Linked DNA regions of Homo sapiens: region 1 is linked to region 2. The links are contacts of gene promoters, found by promoter capture Hi-C in human tissues and cell types (Jung and others, 2019). All regions are on one chromosome and are shown on one strand. Each heading gives the region's core, a stretch centred on a gene start or on the middle of the fragment in contact. The rest is flanking DNA. Distances are from core to core; before and after follow the strand shown.

The links. The method cuts DNA at HindIII sites, captures the fragments that hold promoters and counts their contacts. A contact is called where the count stands out against the background at its distance.
Region 1: a contact is called between a fragment that was not itself captured here and the fragment with the promoter of TST in region 2, in 1 of the 25 tissues and cell types used here (lymphoblastoid cells).

The regions. Positions count from the first base shown.
Region 1 is chr22:36,751,589-36,754,631 of GRCh38, forward strand. The region is part of intron 2 of CACNG2-DT (CACNG2 divergent transcript); the gene reads left to right. Among named protein-coding and RNA genes, the nearest start is that of IFT27, 23 kb to the right of the region's middle. The HindIII fragment of the contact is 5,414 bases long and covers 1-3,043 here.
Region 2 is chr22:37,018,042-37,020,978 of GRCh38, forward strand. It overlaps TST (thiosulfate sulfurtransferase), which reads right to left and starts at 1,406. Exons shown (of 3, transcript NM_003312.6): 1 at 1,359-1,406; 2 at 97-712. The coding sequence starts at 691. It overlaps MPST (mercaptopyruvate sulfurtransferase), which reads left to right and starts at 1,701. Exons shown (of 3, transcript NM_021126.8): 1 at 1,701-1,831. The coding sequence starts at 1,796. RefSeq lists enhancers at 1-924, 953-1,454 and silencers at 928-987, 1,148-1,537, 1,568-1,687, 1,698-2,017. The HindIII fragment of the contact is 8,246 bases long and covers 1-2,937 here.

The DNA of each region.
Region 1 (3,043 bases), core at 143-2,642, 270 kb before region 2:
ATCATATATATCATATATGTCATATATATCATATATATCATATATATATCATATATATCATATATATATCACATATATGATATATATCATATATATCACATATATCACATATATATGATATATATCATATATATCACATATCATATATATGATATATATATCATATATATGTGATATATATGATACATATATTTGAGACAGAGTCTCGCTCACTGTAACCTCCCCATCCTGGGTTCAAGAGATTCTCTTGCCTCAGCCTCCCGAGTAGCTGGGATTACAGCTGCCCACCATCATGCCTAGCTAATTTTTATATTTTTAGTAGAGATGGAGTTTCACCATGTTGGCCAGGCTGGTCTCGAACTCCTGACCTCAAGTGATCCGCCCACCTCAGCCTCCCAAAATGTTGAGATTACAGTCGTGAGCCACTGCACCTGGCCTAAAATCATATTTTCTGACCTGAAATAATACCCACCAGATATTGTTAAATGAAAAGAGATAAGTTCCAAATTTCATATATGGCATTATCACATTTTGTTTTTGGCTTCAAAATATGTACATATTTGTACATGTGGAGGAGAAAGGGAGGAGGTGCACATGCCTGGATGTGATGGGTGGCTATCTCTGAGTGGTAGGATTTGAATATTTTCTACTTTCTTCTTTATGCTTTTTAGTAATAGTTTCTTTTTTTTTTAAATAAACACACATTATTTCCATGCTTGTAAAAAAGCCATAGTTACTACAGATGATTTGGAAATCACCTATAAAGCACTGAACGTTTACTATATATCATGCCTTCTAAAAGTAGGTTTTATATATCTCCATCCACCCACAAAAACTGGTAAGGTTAGTGGTATTATTCCCATTTCATAAACAAGAAAATTGAGGGCCAGAGAGGATCAGTGCTTTGTCCAAGGACACACCGCTGCAATCCTAATTCCACTCGTCTGATATGAAAGCAGTGCTCTAACCTCTAAACCTTGGCTGCATCCAGAGGGTCTACAGGGGATGTCAGATGTAGCCCCTGCCCTCTAGATGGTGACCCTGTCTTTGCTCTCCTGGTCTCTTGCCCTCATTCTCTTCTCTGGTCACTCCTCTCTGCCCCCCGGAACCAGTTACATAATGGCTTCGGTGAAAATACACTTTCCCTCTCAGATCACAGGTGAAACTCGAAAGCTGCCCATTCAATATTTTCTCCTAATGAGCCTTCCTAGGCTTCTTGCCTTTTTAGAATGGAAACAAGCTCTTCGCTGCCATTCTCCTCATATTCATCAGCTCTGTTTGCTGGCAGGGCAGAAGAGTGAATGGGCATCGTATACATAAACATCATACGATCCACAGAGGGCTGGCCAGCCCGAGTTCTTAATCCTGGCTCCATCACTGACAATTTGCAACCCGGAGAAGTCACTCTCTCTGTGTTTTCTGTCTCTAAAGTAAATAAAGGATAACACACTTTAAAAATCAATTGGTGTTCTGAACAAAAAGGATGGGTGTGTGAAATGAGGACAACTCTAAGGGGCTGAAAATACATTTCCCCAAGTTTTGCAAATGCTGGAGATGGTGCAAGCCTTGTCCTACCTTACCCCTCATCCCCATCAGCTCTTGGTCTCCTTACCTCCAGGCACCTTCTCTCCCACTCCACCCTCCAATTCCTCCAGGCTGATCTTTCCAAAGCAAAAATCCAGGTGAGTCACTTCTGATAATGGCTCTCCACTCCCTTCTGGAGAAAGTCCAACTCCTCTGCTCTGGGTACAAAGAGCTCCATGTTCTTGCTTCATCCTTGTCTCTGACCTCACCTGCTGGGCACCCGTCTCTCCCCAAACCCTACAACGCACACGGTTCCCCAAGAGGGCCTCCAGCTTCATGCCTCAGGGCCTTTGCATATGCTTCCCTTTGTCTGGAATTCTCTTCCCTGGCTAACATCAGGTATTTCCCTGCAAGGTCCTGGAAACCCTTCCTAGGCAGCAGACCTGGAGCTCCTCCAGGCCACCTCCTCAGTCCTCCCTGATCTCCAATGCAGGGCAGGACCCTGGACAGAGATGAATGCTGGAATGGGAAGCACAGGTGCAAAACCAAAGGCTTCCTTCTGCATCTCCAGGATGGGCACCAATCGTCCAGTAGATGTGGCTTAGTGTAAATTTCAGTTCCCATCCTGGGATCAACTGAATCTGTGCTTCTTGCCACTCCAGCTTGGGCCAGGAAGTTTTTAGTATTCCATTTTTAAAACCACAACATTTTAGCACCAAAATGAATGCATTTTATTTATAGACATGGAAGCAGGTTGCCTCTTGCCCCCATCTCTCCTTCCAGAAGATGGTCTATCCAATGCATGTTTCCCAGATACGGAAAACTACAGGGCTCCTTTCACAGCAGAAACACCGTCCAGGGAAACCTGCCTGGCGGGCTTCTCCTACCCCATCCACATCTGAATGGATGCGGCAGGGAAGGGCCTGGGTGTCACAGAGGCAGTGCTTTGGAACTGGGCAACTGTTTCTGAACACCCACCCCAAACACGACCGGCCCCACAGTGTGTCCACCCTCCCAGTCACCTCGGCTTCCCCGCCCTCTCTGGCTGAATCAGGTGATGTCAAGAGGCAGCTCTAAAAGATGCTGCGGAATGGCCAGCCCAGAGCCATGGAAGAGGACAAGAGGCCAGGTCCCAGGCCAAACCGCTCTTACAGAAGGCAAGAATCGTGGAGGACAACAAACAGAACCTTCTTCGGAGATCCTAAAGGAGACAGAGGGGCGGTTCCTCTAACCTCCCTCAGGATTTGAAAGATCAACGCTTTTTGGGTTCCACTGGAGTTTAGAAATCAAGAGTCGGCTCCTTTTTCTCCTCTATGGATGGCAGGTGATTCTAGGGCAGGGTATGCATCTCTGGTGTCCATCCACACCTCCCACACTCATCGGACTTTACGGAGGTCCAGCGTTGGGCACTAGGAAAAGAAAGTGGTCAAGCTCCACCTCTGAGGGGTCACTGATGAGCCAATGATGCCTAGAGGGTGCCAGGTGCTATGACCTTCAAATCCTGCTTAAACATCACCTT
Region 2 (2,937 bases), core at 156-2,655:
ATGGGACGGACCCTGGAGAGGGTCCCAGTCATCCTTACTCCCTATCCTTCCATGGGGCAATACTCCCCAGGGACCACCCAGCACTGGGACACCTACCTACTGCATCCGGCTCCGGCTCGGTGCCCAGGAACCGCCCTTGAGACCTTGAATCCACCAGCTGGAACCTCTTAGATTCAAGGTTCTCCAGCACCTGCTCGTAGGTCTTGAGCAGGGAGCGGTCCAGTGTGGCTTTGAAGACGGCCGGTTCTGGGCGTGAGGGCTCGGATGTCACCGGGTGGCCCTCCTTCAGCCAGTTCCGGAAGCCACCATTGAGCACTGATACGGTGCGGTGGCCAAACACACGGAACATCCACCAGACCCGGGGAGCATAGAAGCTGCCCAGGTGTTCACCATCATACACCACCACGTGCGTGTGGTTGCTGATGCCCAGGCGGCCCACATACTCGGCGAAGCCAGCCTCGCTGGGCAGCATCATCTCGTAGGGCGACGCCGTGTCCCGGCACTCTTCTATGTCAAAGAAAGAGGCGCCGGGTACGTGGCGCTCGAGGTACTCCTTGCGGGCCTCTCGGGTGCCTGGTGAGTACCAGGACGCGTCCAGCACCCGCAGGCCGGGCCCCAGCTTGCCAGTCCTGATGGACTCCGCCAGCCACTTGGTGGAGACCAGCGCCCGGTAGAGCACCTGATGAACCATGGCTTCAGCTCTGCGTGTCACCTGGCACGGGTGGGAACCAGGAAAGAGAGACAGGCGTGAGGAAGGAAGTCGGTGTGTGCAGTAGGGTGAGGCCTGGGAGAAGCTCTTTCTCCCTCCGCACTCCCCCGGGTTCCTTGTTTACAGCAAGCCAGCGAGGCTGGGGCGTGCAGCGGGATAAGTTTGCAGATTCCCTCTGGAAAGCCGGCCCCGCCCCTCCCAGCCGGCCCGGGGGCCCAGCGCAGAAGCGGGTGGGGCAAGAGTTTCCGAGGACTCCAAGTAGGGGCGCTTCCTGGGGCGGGGATCTGGCTCCTAGAAGTTACAGTACTCGATCCCGCCAGGAAAGAGCAATGAAAGCATGCCCGGGATGGGGGGCGATGGCATCTTGGGCTTAGAATCCCCTTTCCTTCCAAGGCAGAGGGGGTGGGCGCACGGCTAGGAAGCTCCGCGAGCCGCGCACACGCCATCGCCTGCGGCCTCCCCAGGCAGCCCGAGCTCGCCCGCCTCCAGAGTGCCCGAGTCCGGCCCGTAGCTCGCTGCCCTCTGCCCTAGGTGGATCAGGGGTTCCCGGGGCACCCCGTCCCACTCTCGCAACGCTATCCTTCCCCGGGCAGCAGGTGGCCCGACCGGCGGCCCAGGCGCCCGGCCGCTGCCCCCGCCCCGCACTCACTCGCCCCGGACGCCGCGCTGGCGCTCGCCCCGGCCGGCTGGAGAAGTTGGCCGGTTCAAACCCCCGGCCGCAGCTCCCCAGGCGGCGCGCACCATCGCGCCACCGCCAGAGGGGGACCCTGCGCCGCCCGCCGCCATCCCGCGCCTCCCCCGCGCGGCCGCTTCGCGCCCGGCACCTGCCAACCTCGCGCGCGGGGCCTCCGGGACCCGCGGGGGTCTGAGGGGGACGCCGGGTGGCGCGGGGGCCGCGCGGGCCTGGGCTGGGCGGAGCGGGCGTACCCCCACGGCCCGGCCAGTGGAAGGCGCGGGCAGCAGCGGCTCCGAGTGGCCGCGGCGGTGGGCTGTGCCGGAGTCTCCTCCCTTTGGTCCGCTGCAGGTTGGTGGCGGGAGGAGGGGACAGCTGCGGGCGCGGGGAGGGGGCGCCGCGCCGCGGGGGCCATGGCGGAGCCAGGAAGCCGGGAGTCCGAGACCCGGGTAACTGCCGCGGCGTGGCGGCTTGCCTTTCTGGAGGGGGAGGGAGTGGCTCTTTGGGGGTGCTCGGCGCGGGGCTCCCGCGCGGGACCTGGGCGGAAGAGGGGGCTTAGTCTAGGAGAGAAGGCGCGCCGCTACGTTGGCACTAAGGGTGACTGTCCGCTTGGGGCGGCCTGCCGGGTGGGGTCGTGGCGAGTGGCGGGTGGGGAGCCTTGGGTGGAAGTGGGTGACCTGGTGGCACCAGAGAGGGCGGGGGAGAGAGAGGAGGACAGGGAGACGAGACCCCGCTGACCCAGAGGCCCCAGGAAGAGACACTAGCCAATAACTTGTTAGTGAGTGAAAGGAACTAACATTGTCCAGCCCTGCTTGGTGTGGCACTTTGCTGGGTACTCCCGTGGTGTGACTTAATTCCCACAATAACCCTGAGGAGTAGGCCAGAAACTTACTAAGACAGGAGAGAGCGGCAGAGCGAGTTGCTGGAGGACACACCCAGAGTTGAGGCCGGGCCTGATCCCTGGTCTGAAGCCCACGTGGTACCAGCTGCCTTTGTTTACCTGGCTCTTCCCTGAAGGTTCATGCTTTTTAAAAAATTGCCTGTTTTGAACTTAGCCCGTTTAATCATAAGTTGATGTAATTCAATTTTTAATAATAGCTGTATTTAACAACCAGTTGGCAAAATTCCTGAAAAGCTCGCCATGGGCTCTTGCAAACTGGGGGACACCATTGCCCCTCCCTAGCTTTTGCAGAGGCCAGCCTGGAAGCTTTCCCTGTTTCCCAACCCTGACCTTTTGTTTTGTTTTGTTTTTTGAGACAGGCTGTGGTTCTGTGGCCCAGACTGGAGTGCAGTGGCGCCATCTCAGCTCACTGCAACCTCCGCCTCCCAGGCTCAAGCGATCCTCCCACCTTAGCCTCCCAAGTAGGTGGGACCACAGGCATGTGCCACCATTCCCGGCTAATTTTTAAATTTTTGGTAGAGATGGGGTTTCACCATGTTGTCCAGGCTGGTCTTGAACTCCTGGGCTCAAGTGATCTGCCCATCTCAGCCTCCCAAAGTGCTGAGATTACAGGCATGAGCCACCATCCCTGGCCTCATCCCTCTTTTTAAAAAA